7 separate regions of the Homo sapiens genome follow, and all the other regions are linked to region 5. Evidence: promoter capture Hi-C in 16 types of primary human blood cells and fetal thymus (Javierre and others, 2016). All regions are on one chromosome and are shown on one strand. Each heading gives the region's core, a stretch centred on a gene start or on the middle of the fragment in contact. The rest is flanking DNA. Distances are from core to core; before and after follow the strand shown.

Region 1 (3,492 bases), core at 100-2,599, 330 kb before region 5:
AAGAGTCAGACAGACGAATACCAAAATGCCATTTTTACTAGGAATTAAGCTGAATTCAACTAAGTGGTTGAGACAGATAGCCACAATTAGCCCTTCCATTATCTTGGAAGAATTATGGTTTGGAGTGTAGACATGCCCAATCTCAGTGTCAGGAAAGTGGTGCCAAAGAAAGGGAAAAGAAGAGAGACCACAATATGCTTAGTTGTTAATACACCAAGTCCGTCTAAGTAAAGGCCCATGAAGGGCCAGGACCAAGCCAGGGAGAAAGGCTGGACGTATTACTCAGTGGACATCTCAGCACGAAAGCATGAAGCAAGGGGAATGGCAGTTACTCTCTGGGGTAGGGAAATTCTCTAGTTGCTCAACTTCAGTTAACTTGGAAAGTAATTCTTCAAAAGATACATTAATAATTTGAGAGATCAGAAAGAACATTACTATCTCCATGTTGACTGGATAAACAAGACATCCACCTATTAAAAGTAGGGAAGAACACCTACCACACACAAAGATGTGAAAGTCTGAGTTCCTGTTCCTAAGGCTGGTCCGATGGAGAAGAGGATGAGATGCCCCATACTGGTGATGGAAATCACAGGTCACCATCAACACACAGAGCTCCATGTGTCATATACTGCTAGTTAAATAAATTTTAAAATTTCAGCAAAAAAATTCCTAAAGTTTTACTAGTGTTTGCCCTCTGACCCTTCTCAATGTTATGTTATTAGTACATCTTATAAACCACCAATAAAATTAACTAACTTATATATAACATTCAGTTCTCCCTACCATAAATAGCATGAAGACTCTTGCCTTCTAGAAATAAGTTTTTCTAGTGGCCTTTAAAATAAGTTTTTGTAGTGGCCTTTAAAAGAGTAGTTTAGAGGGAAAAATATCAGAGCACTAGAAAGTAAGCTTTCTTCAGCTATCTGCTCAATGTTTTCAGCCAGATTTCTTTGATATGTGTCTTTCCTTTCCAAATAATCCCTCAGTTCCTTTTACCTGGAGTTCAGCACTAATCCAGGCTACCTTCTAATATTGCTATCTGTCCAATGCAGGTCATATTTCCCCTATTGAGTTCCTGAAGGCTACATTTATGTTTTGTTTTTCCTTATAGCACCCAAAGCACCTAGAACAGCTGCTTGCATCTAGTAAGCACTTGGAAGCAAATGCATGTTGAAATAAATTGTGGAATTAATATTAGATTTTGGCTTAAAATAAAGCAGCACTCATCTTCCACGAGAAGGGCACATCCAACCCAATCTCTTGTTCCTTCTCCAAGTCCAGCAGTATCAGAGTTGACACTTTGGAGAATGATCCTCCTTTGAGATCCTTCAGAGTCAAAGGAAGAGTCGGTGGAGTCTACTGTCCTCAAGGCAAGGCCATGGAATATTAGAGCAGCGTGGTGCTTTAAAGATCACATAGTCCAACAGATTTGAAAACTGAGGCTCTGAGAAGGAAATCAAATTGGCCCAGGGGCCCCTGCTGGATGGTGAAAGAGTCAGTGTTGAATCTCTTTCTGTTACACAATGAGATCAGCTCATAAATATATATAAAAAAAATTCAACCTGAGTTAGGAGCAAAAATATTTTCTGGCTATTAAAATATTAAACTCACCAGAATGTGTCATTCCTTCAATTATTTAAGCTATTCAAAAGTATACTGTTTTAACATTTTTTATTCTAGATACTAACACTAAAGCTAAGAATTAGCTCTAGCACATTATTTACTGACTACACATGTTCAGACACACCTAGGACCAAACGTGTCCCCCAGGCATCATGACCAGTTAAGTAAAAGCTTGAGGACTGCGGGTCTGATCCTCTCCCCACTACAATAGGATTAGAAAGTCCTTAACTTCTCTTCCTACTATTGGAACCAGATTTGCTCTCTCACCACAGAAGCCCTTTTAGGAACAGCCGTGGGCCTGTGGGCCTTATCATTTATCACTTGTTTCAAGGGCTTAAACTTTGATCTGGGGATAATTTGGTATGTTTGAAAGAGGAATAAGCCTTTTGTCTAATCTAGGGAATAAAGTACAGAATCCAGCAGCTGGAAGTCTTGGGTTTATTTTTCTTAGGCAAACCCATGAATTTATCATCATTTCCGGGAGAAACAAAGAAGGGGTTCCAGGAAGCCATTCCCAGCCGTTGGGTACTTATTTAAAGAAAAGAGGAAGAAAGAGAGAAAGAAAAATAGCCTCTCAGGCTGAAGAAGTGCTGGAGACCCAGATCCCAGCAGATGAGAAGAAACAGGCTTTCTTCAACGTCAGCCTGTGGCAGGGATTTGATAACTTTCTTCTCCCAGCTCCCTGAACCTGACCTGAATGGTCTGCTCTGGGTAATCTGAATAAACTCTCTTGAGGTTCTATAGGGTCCTAATTTAGTGTGAGGGAGGAGAAGATAGGTTGTCAGATTGACATCTGTTGCTGTTCTGAGTAGGGTTTGAGGAGTCTAAGTCTTGGGAGACTGAGAAACACACGGACTCCAGCTCCATTCAGAAGCTGCATGGATTTATTTAGACACACTGGAATACTGACTTTTCTTGAACTTTAAAGGTCAGATGAACTCAGTATCTAAAATTGAGTTCTGGCAAAAATGATATTTCATCATATCTATTATTACAGTTTCTTATAAATGTAATTCCCTTTTGAATTGGTAGATTACTTTTATGCTAGTAACACGATGTTTCAAAGCACTGTTTTACCCATTTCTTCAAATGTTGCTGATTTAAAATACCTATTATATAGATCAAACATTAGGTTTTAAGCCTTGGGTGCTATGCCTGCTGTGAGTTTAAAACTGCTTTTGGAGAATTCTGCTTCTACTTCAAGTGGACTTTCTCCCTTTTATGACCTTAAAGGCTGAGTACTAGATGTGATATAAGTGAACTGAAGGAACAGGGCCCAGGTTTATCATCATTATTGTATTGCTTTATTCTGTCTGTTTTTGTTACATTTTCACAAAGTATTTTGAAATGCACCTACTGTAAGAAGGGAGGCTATTCGGGACATTTGATTTTCTATTTTTTTTATTTATTTTTATTTTTTGTCTTTCTTTTTTTGTTTTTTTTTTATTGTTTATTATTATTATACTTTAAGTTTTAGGGTACATGTGCACAATGTGCAGGTTAGTTACATATGTATACATGTGCCATGCTGGTGTGCTGCACCCATTAACTCATCATTTAGCATTAGGTATATCTCCTAATTCTATCCCTCCCCCCTCCCCCCACCCCACAACAGTCCCCAGAGCGTGATGTTCCCCTTCCTGTGTCCATGTGTTCTCATTGTTCAATTCCCATCTATGAGTGAGAACATGCGGTGTTTGTTTTTTTGTCCTTGCGATAGTTTACTGAGAATGATTGATTTCCAATTTCATCCATGTCCCTACAAAGGACATGAACTCATCATTTTTTATGGCTGCATAGTATTCCATGGTGTATATGTGCCACATTTTCTTAATCCAGTCTATCATTGTTGGACATTTGGGTTGGTTC
Region 2 (3,533 bases), core at 169-2,668, 410 kb after region 5:
GTGGCAGGCACCTGTAGTCCCAGCTACTCAGGAGGCTGAGGCCGGAGAATGGCATCAACTCAGGAGGCGGAGCTTGCAGTGAGCCGAGATCGCTCCACTGCACTCCAGCCTGGGCGACAGAGTAAGACTACATCTCAAAAAAAAAAAAAAAAAAAATCCAAAAGAAGAACAAAGACTTTCATTCTAAAAAATATACTTTGAGAAATGCCATTCTAGACCACACTATCCACTACCTCAAGTCCAGTTATGGATTTTTCAGTAAAGTGAGAGAGCAGGAGCGTGGCTTTGGAGTCAGACAGACATGATTTTGAGTCCCTGACTATCTCCTTCAAGGTGTGTGCCCTTGGATAAGTTTATTAACCTCTCTGAGTTTCAATTTTCTCATCTATAAAATGAAGCTAACGGTCATATCTACCTCATGTCGTTGTTGTGAAGGTGAAAACAAATCACGTACATAAGGCTCTTACGAAATGGTCTAGCACATGGGATGCAGTATTAACTATATTTAAAACTCAATTAATTTATTTATCAACTTATACTTATAAGACTTTTGATCTCAAGATAATTTGTTTTGAGTGGCATAATTCAAAGCGGTTTTATGAATCTTTTTCCTCAAAGTCAAATGTAAGAATTATGAAATATGGACAAGCTTTAAAAGATGCTAATATCCTTCTTTGCAGACACCTCTTACTGAGGCAGAAGCTGTTACTTAAGCCAATTACTGTATTTGGATATAGAAGTATAAATAGGAAAATAATTCTTGAGTGGAGTAAGCTCTTCTTGACATGAGCCACATTGGGTCTCCTTCCACCATTCATAACAACGTGAGCCTCTACTTCTATTTCATCAAACAGGAATGGAACATGAAAAAGTCATCATAGACATGCCAAGGTCACGTAGGAAGATCCATGCACCAAGTCTCTTCCATAAAACTCCCAAACCCAATGACAACAAATAAACAAGACTACTCCAAGTTATCTTAGAATCTGCAAAGTGGATTCTTGGAATACAGAGAAAGCCAACAAGCCTACCAGAGACCTAGGTCTTCAATTGTCTGCTTACTGCTTCCTGCCCAGAAGAAGAGTGTATTAGTTTCATAGTGCTGCCATAACAAATTATCACAACATAAATTTATTCTGTCACAGTTGTGAAGGTCACAAGCCTGAAATCAAGGTATCAGTGGGGCTGCACTCCCTCTGAAGGCTGTAAGGGAAAAATTATTTCTTGACTCTTCCAGCTTTGGATGGCCCCAGGTGTTCTTCACTTTGAGCCTGCATAACTCCAGTCTCTGCCTTCTTCACATAATCTTCTCCCCTCTCAAATCTCCTTCTGCCTTTCTCTTATAGGGATACCTGTCATTGGATTTAAGTTCTATTCTAAATCCAGGATGATCTCATCCTGAGATCCTTAACTAATTATATCTGCAAAGATCTTTTTTCCAAATAAGATTATATTTACAGGTTCCAGGGCTAGGACTTGGACATATCTTTTTGAATGCCACTATTCATTCCCTAACAAAGAGGATTATTGACTTGGAAAGTACAAGCCTTGTGATGGTTCATTTTATGTGTCAACTTGACTGGACCATTGGGTGCCCAGATATTTGGTCAAACATTCTGGGTGTATCTATGAGAGTGTTTTGGGATGAAATGAGCATTTGAGTCAGTAGGCTGAGTAGAGCAGATTACCCTCCCTAATGTGGTGGGCCTCATCCAATCAGTTGAAGGCCGGAATAGAACAAAAAGGCTGACCTTCCCACAGGTAAGGGGAAACTCTTTCTGCCTGACTGCATGAGCTGGGACATCAGTCTTTTCCTGCCTTCAAACTTGAACTGAAACATCAGTTCTTGGGTCTTGAGGCTGCTGGAGCTTCTTCATTGGCTTTCCTAGTTCTCAGGTCTTTGGACATAGACTGGAACTACACCATCAGCTCTCCTGGGTCTCCATCGCATGAACTGCAGATCTTGAGACTTCCCAGCCACCATAATTGTATTAATCAATTCCTCATAACACCTCTGTGTGTGTGTGTGTGTGTGTGTGTGTGTGTGTCCTGTTGGTTCTGTTTCTCTGGAGAACCCTAATACAAGCCTCAAATCTGGATAACTGAGAAATAAGAGGTGCTGCAGTCCTGGCTGAGTAGAGTCCCTCAGGCCGGGCGAGCACCATGAACCAGGAAGAAGTCCTCCTGTGAAGCTTTTGCAAAAGCCAGGGCTACCAAATCAGAGTCTCTACAGAGACAATAACAAGTACCTGAGAACAATTTCCAATCATTTCCAAAGCTAAATGGAATTACCTTTCCCTCCTAAAGGGCCACTGAAGCTAACTAAAATGCCAAGTTTCTTTGCTTTCTAACTGGAATTCTATCAGCTCAGTGTGGAAACACCAATTTTTTTCACACTGATAAATAATGCTTAATAGCAATTACATATGTTTTCTCTTCAGGAAAAGAAGATAACTTATTCTTTAATAAATGCAGTTTAGTAGACATAAACATTTCAAAACATGGGTTCAACCGAAAAGAATTAAAGTGTCAGTGGCATTTCTGCTCGAACCGTTATCTTTGAACCCAGTTAGCCCCTCAGAAATTTTCACACATTACTCTGTATTCAACCCTCCCTCAACTACACTTTAACATTACATCCTCAGTTTTATCCAGAATCAGTGCAAACAATGGTCACATGAAGAACATTGCAGAAGCTTGTGTGAACTTATTATTGAAAACATAGTCCCTTGTATTGTTCATGTCATTTACAACAGGAAAAATTTGCCTCCTTTGGCAAAACAGATGCTGATTCCTATAGACGACTGTGAGCCACAGTCCTTTCTGTCTTGGCTACCAGAAAGCCCAGAATGCAACTCTGTCTCTCCTGCATCCATCACCCTTATTTTTAGTTTCCACTATCATCATTTCCCTTGCACTTCCCTACTTCCCCCCCTCCCCAGTTACATGATTCTTTTTATCTGTCCTTTTACAACCAAAATTCTTTTGGTTGTCATCCATCTCAAGTCCATTTTAGGAAACAGACTAAGACATGAATCAAGTAACCCCAGGTTAATGGTGGCAGAGCCAATAGTGGAACTCAAGGTGGACCACTTGTCACGTTTGCTGTCTCTCCCTTAAAATGGGTGCCTTCAAGCTCTGCCTCCTGCACCACGGGGCCCCAGCAGTCTTCTCACTGGCTTTCCCAGCAACTGCACCGCAGACCTCACAGGTGGAGCCGTCGTGTTTACAGACGCCCCAAGGACCCGCGCTCTAGGAAGTGGAAGTCCCCAGCACATAGTCCAAAGGCCATCTGTTCCTGCATCTCCACAGATTTCATGTCTGGATTTCTGGCTGCCTTGGCAGAGTTGAGGGACTGGGCCTGCTTCCCCCAACATTGCAGAGAAGAGAGAAGAGAGTCAAAGAGCAGAAACAGCCCTAGTCTTGTACCAATTGCGCTGCCTGCACACCTTGCTATGAATAACAATACCAACAGCAGTAACAACGGCAATTCTCATGTGTTGTGTGTGCCTCTCTGCCAGGCATTCAGAGAA
Region 3 (3,597 bases), core at 261-2,760, 300 kb after region 5:
ATGGGCTCTGCCATTCAGGGAACACACATGTCCTTATCCCTGTCCATATGTCAGAGATTCCAAAGGTCAACGGGCCAGGCTTTTGACCTGTCTCTGGCTTTCCCAAGACACGCCATGATGCAGGAGAGGACAGACCATGTAAGTGACTAACAAGCATAACTAAAACAACTGCAGGCGGTGCCATTCTATCCTCACCCATTCTCCGAGGGGACGTCAGTCCCACCCCTTCCAGGAGGACTTCTCCAACTGTTGCAACATACCTACCAGGTGGGGTCTCCTCCCTCTCTGAATTCCGAAACTTTTATAGCTTATACCACACACTGTAGATCTTCATTACATATTTTTCTTTTATTTTTTCCTCGCTGTTTTGCATGTGAGAGTCTTCTTATCCTAACATAAAGATCAGCTACCTGCTCTGTATTATTCTATGTTTTGCACAGTACTTGGCACCATGCAGAACACACAGAAATCTCTGAACGCTTGTAAAGTGCACTTGATTTTGTCTCTCACCTTCATCCGTTCTCCAACACAGCATTTCCTAATGTGTGTGCCAAGAGAATTTCAGCTAAAAAAGGATTCCAAGGTCTAAAAGACTGGAAAACACTAGAACGTATCGACTTTCTGAGAGTCACAGTGAGCACATTCAAAACTCTGAAAAGTACTACTGTCAAGAAGCTTGCTTAATTTTCCTAAGCACATCATTTCCCGCAGAGCAACTTTTGCCTGTAACAATTAATAACCTGCAGGAATACTTAGAGAAGTATGGTTTGAGGTTCTCCCCCATGGCCTCTGAAATTTGGTTGCTTTTCTTCTACATTATTCCAATGGGAGATTTTAATTAAAAACTTAGCAGTATCTTTCAGTGAGTTCCAGAACATGGGTTCTACATCTCTTCAAGCCAGAGGAGCCTCTCCCCTTCCAGACCCTGCACAGGGGCTAAGGGAGGCACCCTCAGCTGACCGACAGGATGTTTCTGATTATCTCTGGCTTTCCAGGACATGATGTGGCAGCACACAGAGGAGTTTGCTTGAATCCCTCTAGGTGTGGCTGTGGCTCACCTCCCCCCATGCTGGGCCCCAGTTCAAAGCTCCCTCATCTTTTTTTTCTTTCTTTTTTTTTTTTTTGAGACAGAGTCTCACTCTGTCGCCCAGGCTGGAGTGCTGTGGCATGATCTCGGCTCACCGAAACCTCTGCCTTCCAGGCTCAAGCAATTCTCCTGCCTCAGCCTCCGGAGTAGCTGGGACTGCAGGCACATGCCACCAGGCCCAGCTGATTTTTTTGTACTTTTAGTAGAGATGGGGTTTCACCATGTTGACCAAGCTGGTCTTGAACTCCTAACCTCAGGTGATCCACCCGCCTCGGCCTCCCAAAGTGCTGGGATTACAGGCGTGAACCACTGCACCCGGCCATAACCCTTAACTTTTTAAAGCAAGCCTAGCTTCCTAAGCACTCAGACAAGAATCCGAAACTCAAAGAAGAGACAGGCTGCGCTGCACTCAGCTGAAGCAGGCCTGACAAGGACCTCCCTCTTTGCAGCCAAGCAAGTGGGGTGAGGTTATGGAATCCCTCAAATTGGACAACTGAGCTCCTGGCCAGAGCAGAATCCAGCCCCCGGGAGGGCTGCTTTGACACACCCAGCCACGGGCAGATCAGCCTGATACTCCTGATGTTCCCCAAACACAACAGCACTGGATGGGTTATCTGATACCAAGTCATCACAGATCATCACCCCTCCCATCGAGACTCTGGGAACTGTTTCCACGTGGTCAGTCTCCCCAGGAGCCAGCTGGGAGGAAGAACCCAAGCCTGCTCAGGACCACATTTGTCTGATGTAAAGAGGTAAGTCCAGAGATACATCCAACAAATGTCTTCAACCAGGAGTCATCAAGCACCTGCTATACTCTGAGCTCTTTCCAGGCACTGAGGCTATACTGCCAGTCCTAGACACAAGATCCCTCCTTCCCTGGAACTTTTCTCCAAGTAGAGAAAAGGTACAGTGAGTAAACCAGCACACGAATGAGAAACTAGCAGATGAGGATAAGAATAGCAGAAGAAATAAAGCAGAATGGCTGCTTCAGATTGGGGAGTTGGGGGAGGCCAATCTGAAGACGGCAATGTTTTCACTGAGACACAAAAGCCGAGAAGACAGGCCTTGCAGAGTCTGGGGGAAAAGCAGTCTGTGCAACAGGAATAACCAGGGCAAAGGCTGGAATGAGCTCGAGACAGAATGAAGGCCTGGGTAGCTGGAAGGTCTAAGCAAGGAGGAGAATGACACAAGCTGAGGTTAGAAAGGTAGGCAGAGGATTTGGTTTCCTGTGAAACCAGAAAGAAGTCACTGAGGATATCTAAGCTTTGATGTTATACACGAGGGGTGGGAGAGAGATGGGTGGGCAGGATATCTGTGTTCAGATAAGGCCACACTCTCTAAGAGGCCCAGGGTATTCCTGATGTGACAGAAGGTAATGGGCAAGAGTGGCCCACTGAGCTGAAGATTATCCCATTTTAGAGTATAAAACTCTGGAGGTCTGACAGATCTCCCTGCAAAAAGGACAAACAGGATCAGAGGAGTCCTTCAATAAGTCCCATGATGATGTCCACAGGGACACCCACAGGCAGACCTGCACTGGCCCAGGGGGGTGGGCCGTTGGGCTTGGTTGCTTCCTTCCTTCCCCACCCTCAGAAGAAAGCAGTCTCCAGTCTTCTTCTGGCTTGTCTCTGGTTTCCAAGCCGGACTTAAGCCCTACTGCTTGTTCTACCCCTCCTGGGGTGACCCACCTGCTGAAGGCACCCAGGTGGGAGGACTAGAGGGTGCACAAGCTTTGGTGTATGTCAGTTGGCACCCTCCTTTCCCCTGGGAAGCAAGTGTTTCCTAGTGGATACCATGGGGAAGAAAGAAGTCTTAAGGTTATAGAAAGCTAGACTCGCAAGCATTCCTGATACTGGGAGGTGTCTGGTTAAAATAGAAAAAACTTCTAATCATGGCTTTCAAGGACCCCTGCCTCCCTCCCTCCAGTGCCCAAGTAACATCTGCCTTCCACTCACTCCTCGTTTTGAATGTGGGTTAAATGCTTCATATAAGTCCTAGGACCCTTGTTCAAGTCATTCGTACCTTGTTATCCTGATCTTCATGCCTTCCCATGGCCTGGGAGATACAGATTAGCAATCAGGACCCTCCCTGACCCGGTCACCAGACTATACTTTTTCCTTGTCACCACTGCATACTGAGCCCTGTCCCCTGAAGCCAACTTGGCTTTCAAGATATCTTGTTGTTGCCTCGCTTTCCCAGGTCAAGGCTGCTGCTGTTTCTTTCTCGTGGGCACCCCTTCTTCCCTTTGCTGCCCATTAAAAGCCAACCAGTCTTCAAAACCCTGATTTTTTAAGAATTTCCTCTCTACATTAGCCAGAGCAATTTCTCTCACACACTCTCCATTCTATTCTAAATATTTATAGACCAAAGAGCACCCTGCTGGATGCAGCCCTTTGGAGATCAGACACTACACCTGAGATAATTCCATATTCCATACAAAAACCTAGTATGTAATAGATGCTTAATGGCCATGTTCAGAATTGAACTGAAATTGATGTGTGCTAATCCAA
Region 4 (3,410 bases), core at 384-2,883, 320 kb after region 5:
GATAAGTCACTTTTTTCTTGTTGCTTTCAAAATTCTCTACTTGACTTTTGAGAATTCAATTTTTTTCTTTTTTACATTTATTTATTTTTATTTATTTTATTTATTTATTTATTTATTTATATTTTTATTATACTTTAAGTTCTAGGGTACATGTGCACAACGTGCAGGTTTGTTACGTATGTATACATGTGCCATGTTCGTGTGCTGCACCCATTAACTCGTCATTTACATTAGGTATATCTCTTAATGCTATCCCTCCCCCCTCTCCCCACCCCACAACAGGCCCTGGTGTGTGATGTTCCCCTTCCTGTGTTCATGTGTTCTCATTGTTCAATTCCCACCAATGAGTGAGAACATGCGGTGTTTGGTTTTTTGTCCTTCTGATAGGTTGCTGAGAATGATGGTTTCCAGCTTCATCCATGTCCCTACAAAGGACATGAACTCATCATTTTGTATGGCTGCATAGTATTCCATGGTGTATATGTGCCACATTTTCTTAATCCAGTCCATCAAATTCAATTTTAAGGTGACTCAGTGTTAACCTCTTTGGGTTCAATGTACTTGGGTACATTGAGACTTCATGAATTTGGATGTTCATTTCTCTTCCTAGATTTGGAAAGTTTTTAGCAATTATTCCCTTAATAAGCTTTCTTCCTCTTTTTCTTTCTTTAGTCTCCTTCTGAGTCTCCCAGAATGCATATATTGGTTCACTCTATGGTGTCCCATAAGATCTTAGGCTTTCTTCACTTTTCAACCTTTCTGTTTTTTCTGTTCTTCCGACTGGATAATTTCAAATGACTTGTCTTTAAGTACAATGATTCTTTCTTCTGCTTGACCAAGTATGCTACTGAAGTTCTGTATTAAGTTTTTTAGTTCAGTCATTGTATTCTTCAGTTCTAGGATTTCACTTTGGCTCTTTTTTATTATTTCTATATGTTTGTTGAACTTCTGATTTTGTTGACATGTTATACTCCTAATTGTGTTTAGCTGTCTGTTCTCTTGCAGCTCATTTAAGACAATTATTTTGAGTTCTTTGTCAAGCAGATTATGGATATCAATTTATTTAGGGTAAGTTACTGGAGTCTTTTTCAGCTCCTAATAAGGTAGTATCGAGAATTCCTGATTCTTTGTGATCCTTGTAGCCTTAGAGTGGTGTCTGTGTATTTGAGAAGTAGTCACCTCTTCCAGTTCTTACTGACTGCTTTCAGCAGGCAAAGACCTTCATCAGTCATGCTGGTCAGAGATTATGGGTGGATCAGCTGCCAGAGTAAGCAGGCAGTGCCTGCGGGCAGACTTAAGCTGGGTGGGGTCCAAGGGTGGATCTGCTGCCATGGTCCGTGGGTGGGCCTGTTGCCAGAGTCTGTGGGTGGGCTGGCCTGCTGCTGGGTATGTGGGCAGGTGGGCCTGCTTCCAAGGTCCACTAGAGGACTGGGCTGCTGCGCCACAGACAGAGATTCTGTTGAGATCTGCATGAGAGTAGGGCTGCATTTGGTTTCCATGAGCAGTCAAGTTTGCTGATGGGTCCACGGGCAGATGAGCAGGGCTGCCCCTGGGTCTGTGGGAAAGTGGGTGGGTCTGTCACCAAGTCCCCTGCTCTGTGGAAGTGGTCATGCCATTGGGGACATGGGAAGCCAGCTTCCTGTAGGGTCTGTATATGGGCAGAGTTCCTTATGAGCAGTGAACAGGCAGTGCTGTCACTAGGTGTTCAAGTGAGCAAGGCTGCTTCCAGGCCCATGGCTGGTGGTTCTGCTGCCAGAAAGCATGAGCCTGCATTCTCAGTGAAGTTTTTCTAGGTCTTGAGCTCCACCAGGGTTCTGCAACCTCTTACCTGAAAACCAGAGCTCTCATAAAGGTCTATTTTGTATATAGATGGTTGCTAAACAGGTGTTTCAGTAGAAGGGTGAGGCCTGGGGACTTTCTATTTTGCCATCTTGCTGATGTCACTGTATTTCTTTATTTCTATCTTTCTGCACTTAAAATTTTTCTACTTTGTTAATAAATTACTTTTAGAATGAAAAGTGATTTCTTGTAAAAAGAAAATTTACCAACTCATATATTTTTATTACAAGTTTATAAAGTTTGTAAATTACCAGTTAAGCCTCTAAAATACAATTTCCCCTTAGATAAATATTGACTATGGATGCCTGATGAGAAAAGTACAATCTACCAAGGAGCAATATATTTAATTTCCCAAAAGCCTGTGACGTAAAACACAAGAGGGAAATGAGAGCTCTGTCCACACATTGATAGAAGAACTAAAGGGTAAGAAGAACAGTGAATAGGATCTATTTACCCACCACCACAGGTTCTGCTTCCACTTATGATGCAGACAATTGCAAGAGAATATAGTTCCCAGCCTAACAACAAGAGAAATCTGGATAATCTGTGAAATTATAACTTTGCTTGAGCTCATCAGAGAGCTGAAGTTGTAAGGTAACCAGGAGAACTGAATTTTTTTTAAATGCCAAGTCCGTCCAGGGAAAACTGGGATATGTGAATAGTTTTACATTTGACAGAGAATGGGAGGATGCGATAGTCCCTGTAAAAGTAAGAAGAAATAGCTAAAATTTTAAAAATTCAGAAAGATGAGTATAAGTTAGCATGACAGAGTGTAATAACTGGAAGCTTCAAACACAAGAGCAGTTTGCCCTTATGCACAAGGTCATTTCCATAGACCTCATAAGGAAGATAATGGGTAAGGTAAGAGACCAAAGAGAGTCAGTCCCCTTAAGTTGCACACAGGTATGAAAAACCATGCACTTCCTGGAATCTTCTCTTATTCAAATCGAAAGCCTTAAACGGAAGAAGGGACCTGACCCAAGGACCTAGGCAAAGACCCACTGCTTCTGAAGCCCGAGATGGGTTGCACATACAGCCGATGGTACTTGGTGGAAAGGGTGGAAACTCTCCTAGGCCCGAGATTCTGCAAAATTACAAATTAGAAGTCTGTTACTGCTGAGGAAGGGCAGGAAACTGTCTCCCACCCAAGAATCTGTACCAGTAAAGGACAGAGTTTAATTGTGAGGGGCAGAGGGAGGACATGAATTCTAAGAAACCGTCATTTCTGAGGCTTGAGTGCACAGAGCCTGCCTAAGACTGAGATAGGCATGAGAACAAAACTGCCCTATTTCCCTCCACAGCCCCACTTATAGTAAACAAGTGATAAGCTCCATTTATCACTGAGCAACAAACATCAACAGCCTGATTCTAGGGGAGCGGGAGGGGCATGGAGAAATACCCCATTGTGGCACAGGCATGCAGGGACTGCTGAAATCTGAGAGTGGTAAAGAAACAATGAGGACCAATTCAGCACTCCAGGGCTCACACAAAGCATAAGGTAATAGCGTACTATCACTGAAGGAATCTGAAGTTTGTAGTGCAGTGCACTGAAGGTGACTCTTGCAACAACA
Region 5 (3,805 bases), core at 1,087-3,586:
CACATATTTGGCAAGATTAAGGTGTCACCTCTCATATTACAAGGCCTGTTGATTGCAAGCAAAGACAGACCCACCAGCTTAGGACAAAACCCCTTGGAGTTGGAAATAAGACAAACTCTGGGATCCCCGAAAGTCCCGGCAAAATGACGCGGCCAGCCAGTGCAAGGCATCTGCAGAACAAATCCAAGTCCTAAACGCACTGCTTGCTGCCTTTTCTTCTCCTTCCTTTCTTCTGATTTTTCAAGTTTGTTTGCCCCCCTTCCCCTCCTCCCTCCAGACTGCCAGGGACCTGGGAGCTGCCTGCAGATCAGCCCGCACATGTATTTAACCCCTTCCCTGCTGCAGCAGGAGCCAACCACCTCTTTCCTTGCAATCTTCAGGTTCCCAGAGGACCTGGAGCTTGAGAAAAGAACTCTGCCAGTGGATCTGAAACTGGGGCCTGAATCCCTCCTTTGACCAGGGCGAGAAGCTGGAGGAGGGGGGCAAGTGCGGGAAGTGGGGGAGGGCAGGGAGGCGGGCCAGATGAGAGGGAGAAAAGCAGAACCCGACAGAGCACGCCCAATCCAAACCTTCATGGTGCTGTGTGGCTGGGTGGAGGGAACGACTCGGCAGCCTCTTCTGGCCCTGAGGAAGACGTCGATATTTTGGCACGAGGGGAGCCACTGAAGGACTACCCTACCCTTGCGAGGGACCGCAGGAGGTGACGCCCCTGGGCCTCGGTGGGCGCTTCTGGCGGTTTTCGATGTGGCAACCCCCATCAGCCAGGATAATGATGAGGCAGGTACAATCTATCTAGTACGCAGCCCCCAGACTCCCCCCTCCCTTCCCACCTCCCCATCCAACCCCCCAGCTACTCTCTGCGGCCGGTTGGTCCTGAACTGGTGGGTGCAGTTCCGATGTTTAACCAAATTCTCAAGCAATTTCAAGGTATTTGGATTTTTTGAACCTGGGCCCTAACCGAAACGCGGAACGGCTTGCTTATTAGACACCTCGAACGACAGGGCAGGGAGGAAACGGGATACTCGCTGCCCTTCCCAGTCGCGCGTGAGTCAAAAGGTCCTGGCAGGAGATGATGTGAGGAGCGGCTGAAGTGGCAGGGAGGAAGGGATGAGGGGCTTGGAGCGGAGGTCCACCACGCAAGGACTCGGGAAGCGGGCAAGTGGGCAAAACTCTGCTTCCGGGCTCTCGATTTCTCGTTGATCACTAAGTGGTATTTTTCCCCCTTCTCTCGATGGCAAATGGGCGAAATCAAGATGACTTAACTTGGTAAATTTAGAGAGAACGGCTCGGAGCAAGTGAGGTCTAACGGGCAGCTAAAATTATCTCCAAATAAGAGATTTTGACCCCCTCCCCCTATCCTCTCCTCGAATGTATCCACCGGTGGGGAAGTGAGCGTCATTACTTTCGGGGCGCCACGAACAGGTTTGTTTGTTGCTCGCCTTTCCTGCTTCTCGCGCTGTCCCCGCGTGCAGACTGGTGGGTGCTGGGCGAGTGATTAGCTGCAGGGCCCCATCCTAGTTTGGAAGGAAGGGGTTTAGAAGTTGGAGGATGGGTGAAATGGGAGGCTGCGATCCATCTCCCTCTCCCTTCCACACTCAAGCTCCCGCAAACACGCGCGCGCACACACAGCCCCTCCCTAGTCCCTCGGACCACCCGCCCCCACGCCCCTCTACCTTGACCTCCCTTGACCGCCGACACAGCGTCCTGGGTGCGGGTCCCCGGGAGCGGGGAGTTCGCCGGGGAGCGATTGTCCTTGGGCGTGTTCGTGCTGTGGGGTGGGGGGAGGAGTGGCGGGTGGGCTTGGTAGGGGGTGGGGAGAGATCTGGAGCTGGAAGGGTCTAAGGTTTGGAGGAGGAGTTTACGCCTCAGACCTGATCCTCCTGAGGAAAAAGGCAGGAAAAGGCCCTGATGCCTTGTAAAGAAAATCTTGAAAGAAAAAAGATCAAAAAGAAAAATTTCAAGAAAAAGAACCACTAAGAAAGGCTGAAGACACTAACATGTAACCTGTTACGATACATTTAACGTTTCGTTTTTTCCTGGATCTCTAAAAGGGAACTCAAGGGTGGGGGTTACTGAAGAATACTACAGATTTGGAAGTTTTTGTTGCTGTTGTTGTTTGGTTTGGTTTTGTTTTTCAAGAGGGGCCAGGAGAAATGACCCCTTCCCCGCCACGGGTCCCGAAGTGAGGGCGGGGGGGGGGCTCTGGGGCGCGGGCGCGCGCGGCGCGGCGCGGGCCGGCGGGGGAGGGCGGCGCGGCGCGGAAGGGGTTAAGGCGCTGAGCGCGGAGCCATCTGGCCGGGTTGGCTGGTTATAACCGCGCAGATTCTGTTCACGGGACTCAGAGTTGAAGCTCCTCTCCCTTCCGAACAGCTCCGCGCACCGCCCCGCGACGCAGCCCGGCGCAACTACTTTCTTCTCTCTCCTTTCTTTCTTCCTCTCCTTTTTCCCCTGCTGGGTAGTGGCTGCGGCGGGGTGGGGGAGACTTTGAATGACCGAGCTCGCGTCCACCTTTCTCTTCATGTCGACGTCCCTGGAAACGGCCACACGGATGCCATGGTTACTTTTGCCACGGTAAGGGGAGGCGGCGGGCACCTTGGGTGGGCAGGTTTGGGGATGGGGGTCCACGTGGGGAGGGATTTTCCAGTGGACTGGTGCGGGGGGCCCCAGATCCGCATCCCGCCCCACCCCCATCGCGCCGCGCTCACTCACTTTCCCGGGCTTGTGTCTTCCCCAAAGTTTGCGCTGGGATCTGCTCAGGCCGAAGCGCAACCGCAGCCACCCCGCTACACACACACACACACACACACACACACACACACACACACACACACACACAGACACGGACACCCTTCTCCACCTCCTCCCCTCTTGTCCCTCGGCTGCCCAAGAAGCTTCCCTCAATCTGGGAAAGTGATCAGGTTTAAGGGACCTGGATTGGAAAGGGTGGGGGCAGAAGAGGGGAAATGGGGACGACGAAAGAGCAGGAAAGAGATTCAACAGAATCAACCACCCACCACTCCCAACCGACCCGCCTGCTCCTCCGAGAAAGCTCCTAGCGCATCCTATAACAAAAGGGGGTGGCAGACAGAACTCCGGGCGGGGAGGTGCCGCGGCAGCTCCCCTGCACACGCCCTGCACTCTGCCGGCCGCTGAGCCTGATTCTCAGCTCGCCCCAGCACCACTCTGGCCCGGGCGTGGGCTGGGGGGAGGGGACGCGCAGCTCAGGACCCGGAACCTCGCGTTCCAGTTTTGGGAGTTGGGACTCACTGCCACGCGCCGCGTACCTGCGTTGGAGTTCCCCGAAAGGGTTTTTTCAGAAAAGACCTCGCGCCCCGGGCTCCTCTTGGCCAGCGCCCACCCGGTGGCCACCCCACCCTGGGCCTTTGCGCAGATGTTGGAGCTCCGTACGCAGCCCGCACATCTGGGACCCCTCCGGGGAGCGGCGGGCACCCGGGCCCGGCCATCCCAGGGGATCTCCTTGCGGTATCGTCCAGCCTGTTCTCGGACTTTGAGCGGTGGCGTGGGAGGCCGGGAGACCTGGGCACCCGCGCAGCCAGCCAGGTCGGAGTTTAAAGGTCCCACGACGGACCGAACTGTCCCATTGCCCCAGAGCTTTACTCAGTGGTGGATGCTCCTGATGAAATTTGGGACGCTTGGGAGTTGAAGGTTAGGGACAGGAGGGGCGAGGGCCGAGGGCATGGGATGGGGGAGTAGGATTCTGCTTGTTGCTCTCCGCGGGAGTGGGTGCGCGTCCAGGAGGCGCTGCTTCTTTGCGGGAGTTTGGCTGCTGCGTTCATTCGTCGTC
Region 6 (3,317 bases), core at 165-2,664, 450 kb after region 5:
TTTCCATAGGAGATGGAGCAGGGAACAAACGCATACCTTATAACATTTTATCCTCAAGCAGATTGCTAATCATGTCCTGCTCAGGCTTAACATTTGGTTTGAAGAAAGAAAGAGAAATTGACCATCAGGAACACTAAAAGTGGGACAGTTGGTGCGTCTACAAGTGTGGAAGGCCTGCGAGAACATGACAGTGTTCTTCATCCTTCTCCACTTAAAACATGGCTTGACACTGAAGCTGTCTGCATTTCCTGCTCCCCAGGTATAAGGATGGGGAAAAGGGAAAGGAAGCAGAAGCAGGGTCAGAGCTAAGGAGCCACGTGAAGCTGATTCCACATAAACAATTTTTTCTTCAAATCATCAATAATCAGCAGATGAAGCCGCAGGCAGGTAAATAAGAAGGGACTGTACTCAAGCCCAAGAAACAAAGCCAATTTCAGAAGCCCTTCAGTTTCTTGGTGAACTTCTGACATGATAAGATAAAAGGAAAAGTCTAAATAAACAAGTTATTATAGCTCAGATACAGATCAGAAGAGGAAAAATAATCTTAGGGAACGGTATAGTCATAAGCACGTGCTAAGTAAGCTCTCTCTCTCGATACAAGACCTGTGTGAAGCACTAGGGTTACCAGGACAAAAGACACTATTCTCATTGTCAAGAAGCTCAATATCTAGGAGGGAAACAGACATGAAAACAAATTATTACAATATTTGCAGGGTGCAATACAAGTGGGGAAGAGGAAACCTAAGGGGTCAAAGAAGACTTCATAGAAGAGACAATGCTTGAGCTAAGACCAACATATTAAGAGAAGAAAGAGCATTTCAGATGGAGAGAGGAGCAGGGGCAGGGGCTGAAGGCAAGAAGCAGCATGACAAGTGGTTTGGTTTGACTCCAGCCTAGGGTGTGCATTTGGGGTCAAGTAAAAGCAAAGAGGTAGCCAAGAGACTAATTGTGAAAGCCTGGGACAACATGCTTAAGAAGTGTGAACTCGTTCTGAGGTGCTTAGAAGCCATTGAAAGATTTTAATGAGGAAATGGCTTAATCAGATTTGCATTTGGAAAGATCACTCTGATAGAGCATGAAGATGGTTTGGAGGGGCAAATCTAGAAAGAAGTTCAATCACACAAGGGTAGATAGTGAGTGCTGGAATTAGATTGTGGCAATGGGGAAGGTAAGGTAGAAACAGATACGGGAAATGGAATTGACATGACCTGGTGTCCACCAGAACACGAGAGGAGAGAGAATCTAAGGAGGCTTCCAGATTCTGTTGTAGTTGACAGGGAGAATGGTTAAGACAACCAGCAAGACAAGGAATAAAGAAGTCGCAGGTTTTACAGAGAAGATACTGAGTTTTTTTATGAAGACCTTAAACTTGAGATGTTTCCAAAACATAAATCCAGGCATTTATGTTCAGGAGACAGACATAAGAGCCTGGGGAACGCAGGATAAGTGCAGGTTAAAGAAGAGCATTTGAGAGTCATCGTAGGTAGTTAGATAGTAACTTAGGCCACATAAATGTATGAAATTGCCCAGAAAAGTGTGTGTAAGAAGAGCAAAGGAAAGGAAAAAGGAGAGAAAAACATCTGAAGACAGAACTCTGAGAACACTGATACTTCAATGACAGATAAGGAAGAAAGAACACATGAAAGAGAATAAGAGGAAGCCCATAGAGGCAGAGGAGATTCAGGAAAGAATCATGGGCTCCTGGACACCCAAGGGAGGGAAAATGTCAAGCAGGAGGAAGGAGTCAACTGTTTCAAATGCAATAGAAAAATCAAGTCAAGCAAGGATTGAATGGATCTTCTCAATTAATAGAAATACCAAAATAAATTAAATAATAAGGAGCAGATTAGGAGTGTTCCTAGAATTTAGTAGATATTTGATAAATGATGGGTGAATGGATGAAAGGACAGATGGATGAAGAGATGGATAGGTGGATGGATGAATAGATGGGTGGGTGGATGGATGGATAGATGGGTGGGTGGGTGGGTGGATAGATGGATGAGTGGATGGGTGGATGAGTGGATGGGTAGGTGGGGGATGGATGGATGGATGGATGAGTGGATTGAGGGGTGGAATGGGTGGGTGGATGGATGGAAGCGCAACTATATTGGCTACCCCAAAATGAATCTACTATCCTCATGATGGACTGGATTTATGATGATTCTTTCCAGAACCAGAGCAATGGACAAAGATGACCTCAGAGCATCCCTTCCAGAATAAGTTGTCTAGTATTCTACGTATGTCTACAGAAAAAAAGAAATGTGCAGTCTACAGAAAAGCAAGAAAACACTTTATAACTATTCTATTGAGAGGGGCCTTCCAAAGGTCACTCCATCTATCCCCCTCTCTGTGGCAGAATGTCAAGAGCAATTTTTAACACACACCATCTAATCTAAAGAAACCCACATATGCATGCATCCAAATCAGACTTTCCAGAAGAAAGGGAGGAGTACATGTGCATCTACCCTACCACCTCTTGCCTTCTGGCTGGGGGAATGGAAAAACTCATCATCAGTATAGCTGCTGCCCCTGGAGCCAAGGGCACAGCCACAGAGCCAAGTCTCTGTGAAATGCATCAGATCAAACTCAATGATCAATAATAAAATCAACAGCCTTCTCAAAGCCAAAGGGGTTGAAATTCAGAAGGGGCAATATTGTAATTTCTCCTGGGGCTATACAGCATGCTCATTTTTGAGATTTACAGCCTTTAACCAATCCTCTGGATGCAAGGCATCATGCTAAGAAGTCAAGGTTTTTGACTAGGTGAGAGACCAGGTTCAGGTGAGTCACAATACAACAATTAAAGGGGTTTATGGACCCCCAGCCCCCCATCACTCCCTCCAGCTCCAACAGGAGAAATATAAACCCCTTATGAGGGCTAACCAATCAAACCATAAAATCCAATAGCCATACAGTTCAGCTGGAAGAATGTTCCTTTGTTAAACAAACAATGTGTCTGGAACACTTTTTGGTCCATTGTTCCATTCCAGGACAGAGACTGAAGCTATAGAAATAAATTAGTGATTTCAATCATGCTCATCCTGGACTGATCCTACTGGCACATGGAAACTTCCTGGCTGGGGCTGAAGAAGAGAATTAACTCTTTCAGGCAAAGGTTAGAGATGAGTGGGTGGGTGGCTAGAGAAGGCAAAGAAAGAGAATTCAAATGTAAATAACTATGGCAAGATAAAGGCAGGGCTGAATGACACTGAAAACAGACAAGTATTTTTTTTCTTCAAGAGTCATTAAGAACAGCAAGGAAAGGAACAGTCAAAAGCATTTCTAGGTTCACACTGAGATTTTATCTGACCTTCATC
Region 7 (3,756 bases), core at 51-2,550, 470 kb after region 5:
GCTCAGACAGCAGGAACCTCATCCCTGGAGAGGGAGGACACGGCAGTGACTGAGAGCTCAGGCTCAGGGTTTGAATCCCTCACTGGCAGCAAGGGTTCCCAGGGGGGTGAGGCTGGGGGATAACGCTGAAAGAATTGAAGGGAGCACCAGGTGCTGTTGCGTGTTAGGGCCGTGTGGCACCTGGAGCCACCTGGGGCTCTGGCAGGGAGGACGGTGTGGAATGTCAGCTCCCCCATCACCCTGGGGGCAGTGCTGGGATGACCCTGATCAAGTTATGTAACTTTGGTTTTCTTATCTGCAAAATAGGGGCAGTGGTAGTATACGCTTCATGGAGTGGTTTTAAAGATTAAATGAGTTACTTTATGTTCCTAGCACAGTAGAAGCATCTCTTATTACTAATAACTTCAAAAGCAGAAGTACAGGGATCAGAGAGGGAGGGGCCCAAGATTCATGAGGCCCCAGTGGCAGGAAAGAGAGAGCAGGTATTCCTGGCAACACTGAATAGGAAGTTCCTGATGACTGGAAAAGATCCCACCACCAGAGAAGCTTTCAGGACAAGGAGACAGTGCCTGACATACTGTCCCTAGGAAATCATGTCTGCGTCTTTTTTCTGAAGAGCCCATGACAAATCCAAGTCCATGACAAAGTAATCATTATGACCTTGGAATCTGCCCAATGGCACAGAGCCAGAGAGGGTTGAAAGAAAGAAGAGAAGGCCAGAACTAGAAAAGAAGGAAGGGTGGAAAGATACAAAAAAAATCTGCTAACACCCCAGGGCTCAACCTCTTTCCCCAACAGGTCACCAAATCCCCAAAACACTGGACCAGATGACAGCCTGTTCAGGGACTCAGGTTCACCCTACAGGTCTCCTCTCTCTCACCTTCTCTCCCCTATCCCTTCATCCCACCCCGGCTTCTAGCTTTCTCTCTTCGGGCGTCTCCTCAGGGTGGGTGGCTCTGAGCGGGCTGCAGATTGCTGTGGTGTTTTCTTCCCAGACTGAGGAAGGAGATGGGAGAACCAAAGGCAATACTGCTATTGAATGAGAGGCAGGAATTGGAGAAGGTTTCAGTGCAGGAAAAGGATAGGAGCTGACACACAGAGATCCCAGGCTGCTATAATTGGGGGCAGGGCTAGGAGAAGGCACCAAGGGCTTCCTCTCCAGTTGGCCTTCCCTGTCAACTCAAGCTCCTGGGCATCTCTGCCTCCTGGAGCAACTCTACAATGTATTATCTTTGCTAGGCATTATGCTTTGAATCATTCAACAAACAGCACTAAAGGCTATTATATTATCAATATGTCACACATTGTTAAAAAAAAAAAAAAAAGAAAAAGAAAAAAAGAGGCCATCCATGGTGACTCACACCTGTAATCCCAGTACTTTGGGAGATGGTAGGATCACTTGAGGCCAGGAGTTCAAGAGCAGCCTGGTCAACAGCATAGCAAGACCCCATCCCTATTTTTCAAAAATAAAATAAAGGCCAGGCGCAGTGGCTCATGCCTGTAATCCCAGCACTTTGGGAGGCCAAGGCGGGCAGATCACGAGGTCAAGAGATTGAGACCATCCTGGCCAACACAGTGAAACCCAGTCTCTACTAAAAATACAAAAATTAGCTGGGCATGGTGGTGCGCACCTGTAGTCCCAGCTACTCAGGAGGCTGAGGCAGGAGAATCACTTGAACCTGGGAGGTGGAGGTTGCAGTGAGCCAAGATCGCACCACTGCACTCCAGCCTGGTGACAGAGTGAGACTCTGTCTCAAAATAAATAAATAAATAAATAAATAAAAATAAAATAAATAGAAATAAAAATAAATTAGAAAGACACAGTCTCTGTTCTAAAAGTCTTCAATCCATTCAGCGGCAAGCATAGCTCTAGAAGGTGTACTAGGTGCTTTGGTAATGTTGCCCAAGTACAGAATGAGAGGCATTAGATGATGGATGGATGCAACATAGCATCAAATAACATTTTTAAATAACAAGAAAGTCCGTTTTCAATTATCCTGCAAAAATAAAGTCTCCGTTTGTTTCCAATATGTCTTTAACCTCTCTGATGCTAGCTAAGCTTCCTTCTCAACAAAGAGTAAGCAGGCCCCGGTCTCGGATCTCCTGCAGCCAACAGTATCCAGCTAGAAATGAATGATGTCGTTTTGTTTCGGTTGTGCCTATTTTTATAATTATTGTCTATCTGTTGGCCAGTGATATTGGTTCTCCATTTCTGATAATGATAGAATGTTTCCCTTTAAAATAAATTTAAGTTTCAAAAGTGAGCCAATTTAACAAAAATATTCAGCAAATAATAGTCCAGATAGTAAATGGCTACGCCTAAAATTAGGAATCTAGTAAGTAGTGGTATTCAAACTCATAATCATGGTATTCAAATAACCAGTATTTGTGAAACCTTTTACTCTGGGAGCCCAGAAAAGAGGCAATTGGCACATATGCCTTGAACTGTTAACTCTCTGTTCATGAATTTTCTAATTTCCTAACAAGACAGTAAACTCCCTGCACCTTCTCCCTTTGGGGATGCCTAATCCACTCATCAAGCAGTTTCATTCATTCAGAAAATAGGAAGGGAATTCAACTCAGCCCATAAAGAGGGGGAAAAAAAAAGGAAAATTGAAGCACAAAGGTAGACAGGGTGGGAGAGCCAACTTTGGCTTATTTTATGACACATTACAATTCATGAAGTATTTCGCCCATGAACGGTGTGGGCTACAGATCCCAGATAAGAAAATAGACCCGGCATGGCTAAGAACCTTGCACAAAGACACACATCAGTGAACCTGGCCCTTCACTCTCCATACCCTAAGTTCTTCTTGCTACATCGTGCTCCTGGGGAGCCCAGTGGGGAAGGCAGCTCCCACGCATACCACTGATGCTCTCAGCCTTCAGCAGGCAGAGCTGGGATGCCAGACCCTGCTCACAGGCGTGGCCTGAGTTGGTCTGAATGCAACCTCCCCAACTCCACAATGCACCGTGAGAGCAGTACATAGCAACACACACAAACTCGTAACCACGCACGGGCAGCGTGTGCAGGGAGCCAGCAGCAAACCCACACCAGCTCCGAGGACCCTGGGGCTTCCACTCTGAAGCCTTTGGGGGTTCCCGTGTCTGCAGAGAACAACAGAAAAGCACACCCATCAAATTCCACTCCTTCTGTTTCCTGTTCCTGAAAAGCTGCTAAGACTCACAGGTCCTCTCTGAGGCCTGAGAAGCCTTCACCCTCCAACGGCCTGTGGATGAGCTAAGTGTAAGTTCCCTGGGCTGGAAGAGCCCAGAAAGAACGGATCAACAGCATGGGCTAAAATATCCACGGTCAAACAGACCTCAGCCCTTACCACCTGAGAATAATCAATTCCTGAGTGGAAACTCAACAAGGCAGTAATACGAACACCAGCAGTCACCCTATCCAAGCCGAGAGTCCGACTGCCCAGGGTGCTGGGCTGGACAGAAAGTCCAACTGCTGGCCACAGTGGAGTGGTTTGCAGTAGCCGAGACTCCCAACCCAGTGATGCTCAAGGAATGGTAAACACATTCTGGGAGACATCAGAATGGACCCAGGGTTCCCTAGGAGGCATTAGGCCATAAATGGCAATTTCCATGAATCATCATGGAACCCTCTGACTTTAGCTAAGCTCCTGGGCAAGCCAAGAGAGGTAAGAGAAGATGAGGCCTCCTAAGTGCATCTGTCCCGCTCAGCAGACAGTGACACAGCTAACATCCCCAACAGCTGCTCTTCCTTTTGCTTCCATTGTAACT

Evidence for each region. The method cuts DNA at HindIII sites, captures the fragments that hold promoters and counts their contacts. A CHiCAGO score of 5 or more calls a contact.
Region 1: a fragment that was not itself captured here is called in contact with the fragment with the promoter of NTF3 in region 5 in 1 of 17 cell types (activated CD4 T cells); the score reaches 5.8 in activated CD4 T cells.
Region 2: a contact is called between a fragment that was not itself captured here and the fragment with the promoter of NTF3 in region 5, in 1 of 17 cell types (endothelial precursors). The highest score is 5.1, in endothelial precursors.
Region 3: a fragment that was not itself captured here is called in contact with the fragment with the promoter of NTF3 in region 5 in 1 of 17 cell types (endothelial precursors); the score reaches 5.7 in endothelial precursors.
Region 4: a contact is called between a fragment that was not itself captured here and the fragment with the promoter of NTF3 in region 5, in 1 of 17 cell types (endothelial precursors). The highest score is 5.5, in endothelial precursors.
Region 6: a contact is called between a fragment that was not itself captured here and the fragment with the promoter of NTF3 in region 5, in 1 of 17 cell types (megakaryocytes). The highest score is 5.9, in megakaryocytes.
Region 7: a contact is called between a fragment that was not itself captured here and the fragment with the promoter of NTF3 in region 5, in 1 of 17 cell types (endothelial precursors). The highest score is 6.0, in endothelial precursors.

The regions. Positions count from the first base shown.
Region 1 is chr12:5,102,395-5,105,886 of GRCh38, forward strand. No RefSeq gene overlaps it. Among named protein-coding and RNA genes, the nearest start is that of KCNA5, 60 kb to the left of the region's middle. The HindIII fragment of the contact is 885 bases long and covers 908-1,792 here.
Region 2 is chr12:5,845,431-5,848,963 of GRCh38, forward strand. The region is part of intron 4 of ANO2 (anoctamin 2); the gene reads right to left. Among named protein-coding and RNA genes, the nearest start is that of ANO2, 98 kb to the right of the region's middle. The HindIII fragment of the contact is 1,543 bases long and covers 648-2,190 here.
Region 3 is chr12:5,733,542-5,737,138 of GRCh38, forward strand. All of the region lies in intron 13 of ANO2 (anoctamin 2), which reads right to left. Among named protein-coding and RNA genes, the nearest start is that of ANO2, 210 kb to the right of the region's middle. The HindIII fragment of the contact is 1,675 bases long and covers 674-2,348 here.
Region 4 is chr12:5,755,293-5,758,702 of GRCh38, forward strand. The region is part of intron 10 of ANO2 (anoctamin 2); the gene reads right to left. Among named protein-coding and RNA genes, the nearest start is that of ANO2, 190 kb to the right of the region's middle. The HindIII fragment of the contact is 1,979 bases long and covers 645-2,623 here.
Region 5 is chr12:5,429,772-5,433,576 of GRCh38, forward strand. It overlaps NTF3 (neurotrophin 3), which reads left to right and starts at 2,337. Exons shown (of 2, transcript NM_001102654.2): 1 at 2,337-2,571. The coding sequence starts at 2,554. RefSeq lists an enhancer at 3,154-3,679. The HindIII fragment of the contact is 3,984 bases long and covers 1-2,889 here.
Region 6 is chr12:5,878,866-5,882,182 of GRCh38, forward strand. All of the region lies in intron 3 of ANO2 (anoctamin 2), which reads right to left. It overlaps LOC105369621 (a long non-coding RNA gene), which reads left to right and starts at 3,025. Exons shown (of 5, transcript XR_931583.3): 1 at 3,025-3,115. The HindIII fragment of the contact is 4,681 bases long and covers 1-3,317 here.
Region 7 is chr12:5,905,039-5,908,794 of GRCh38, forward strand. All of the region lies in intron 3 of ANO2 (anoctamin 2), which reads right to left. All of the region lies in intron 3 of LOC105369621 (a long non-coding RNA gene), which reads left to right. Among named protein-coding and RNA genes, the nearest start is that of ANO2, 38 kb to the right of the region's middle. RefSeq lists an enhancer at 2,997-3,497. The HindIII fragment of the contact is 1,513 bases long and covers 545-2,057 here.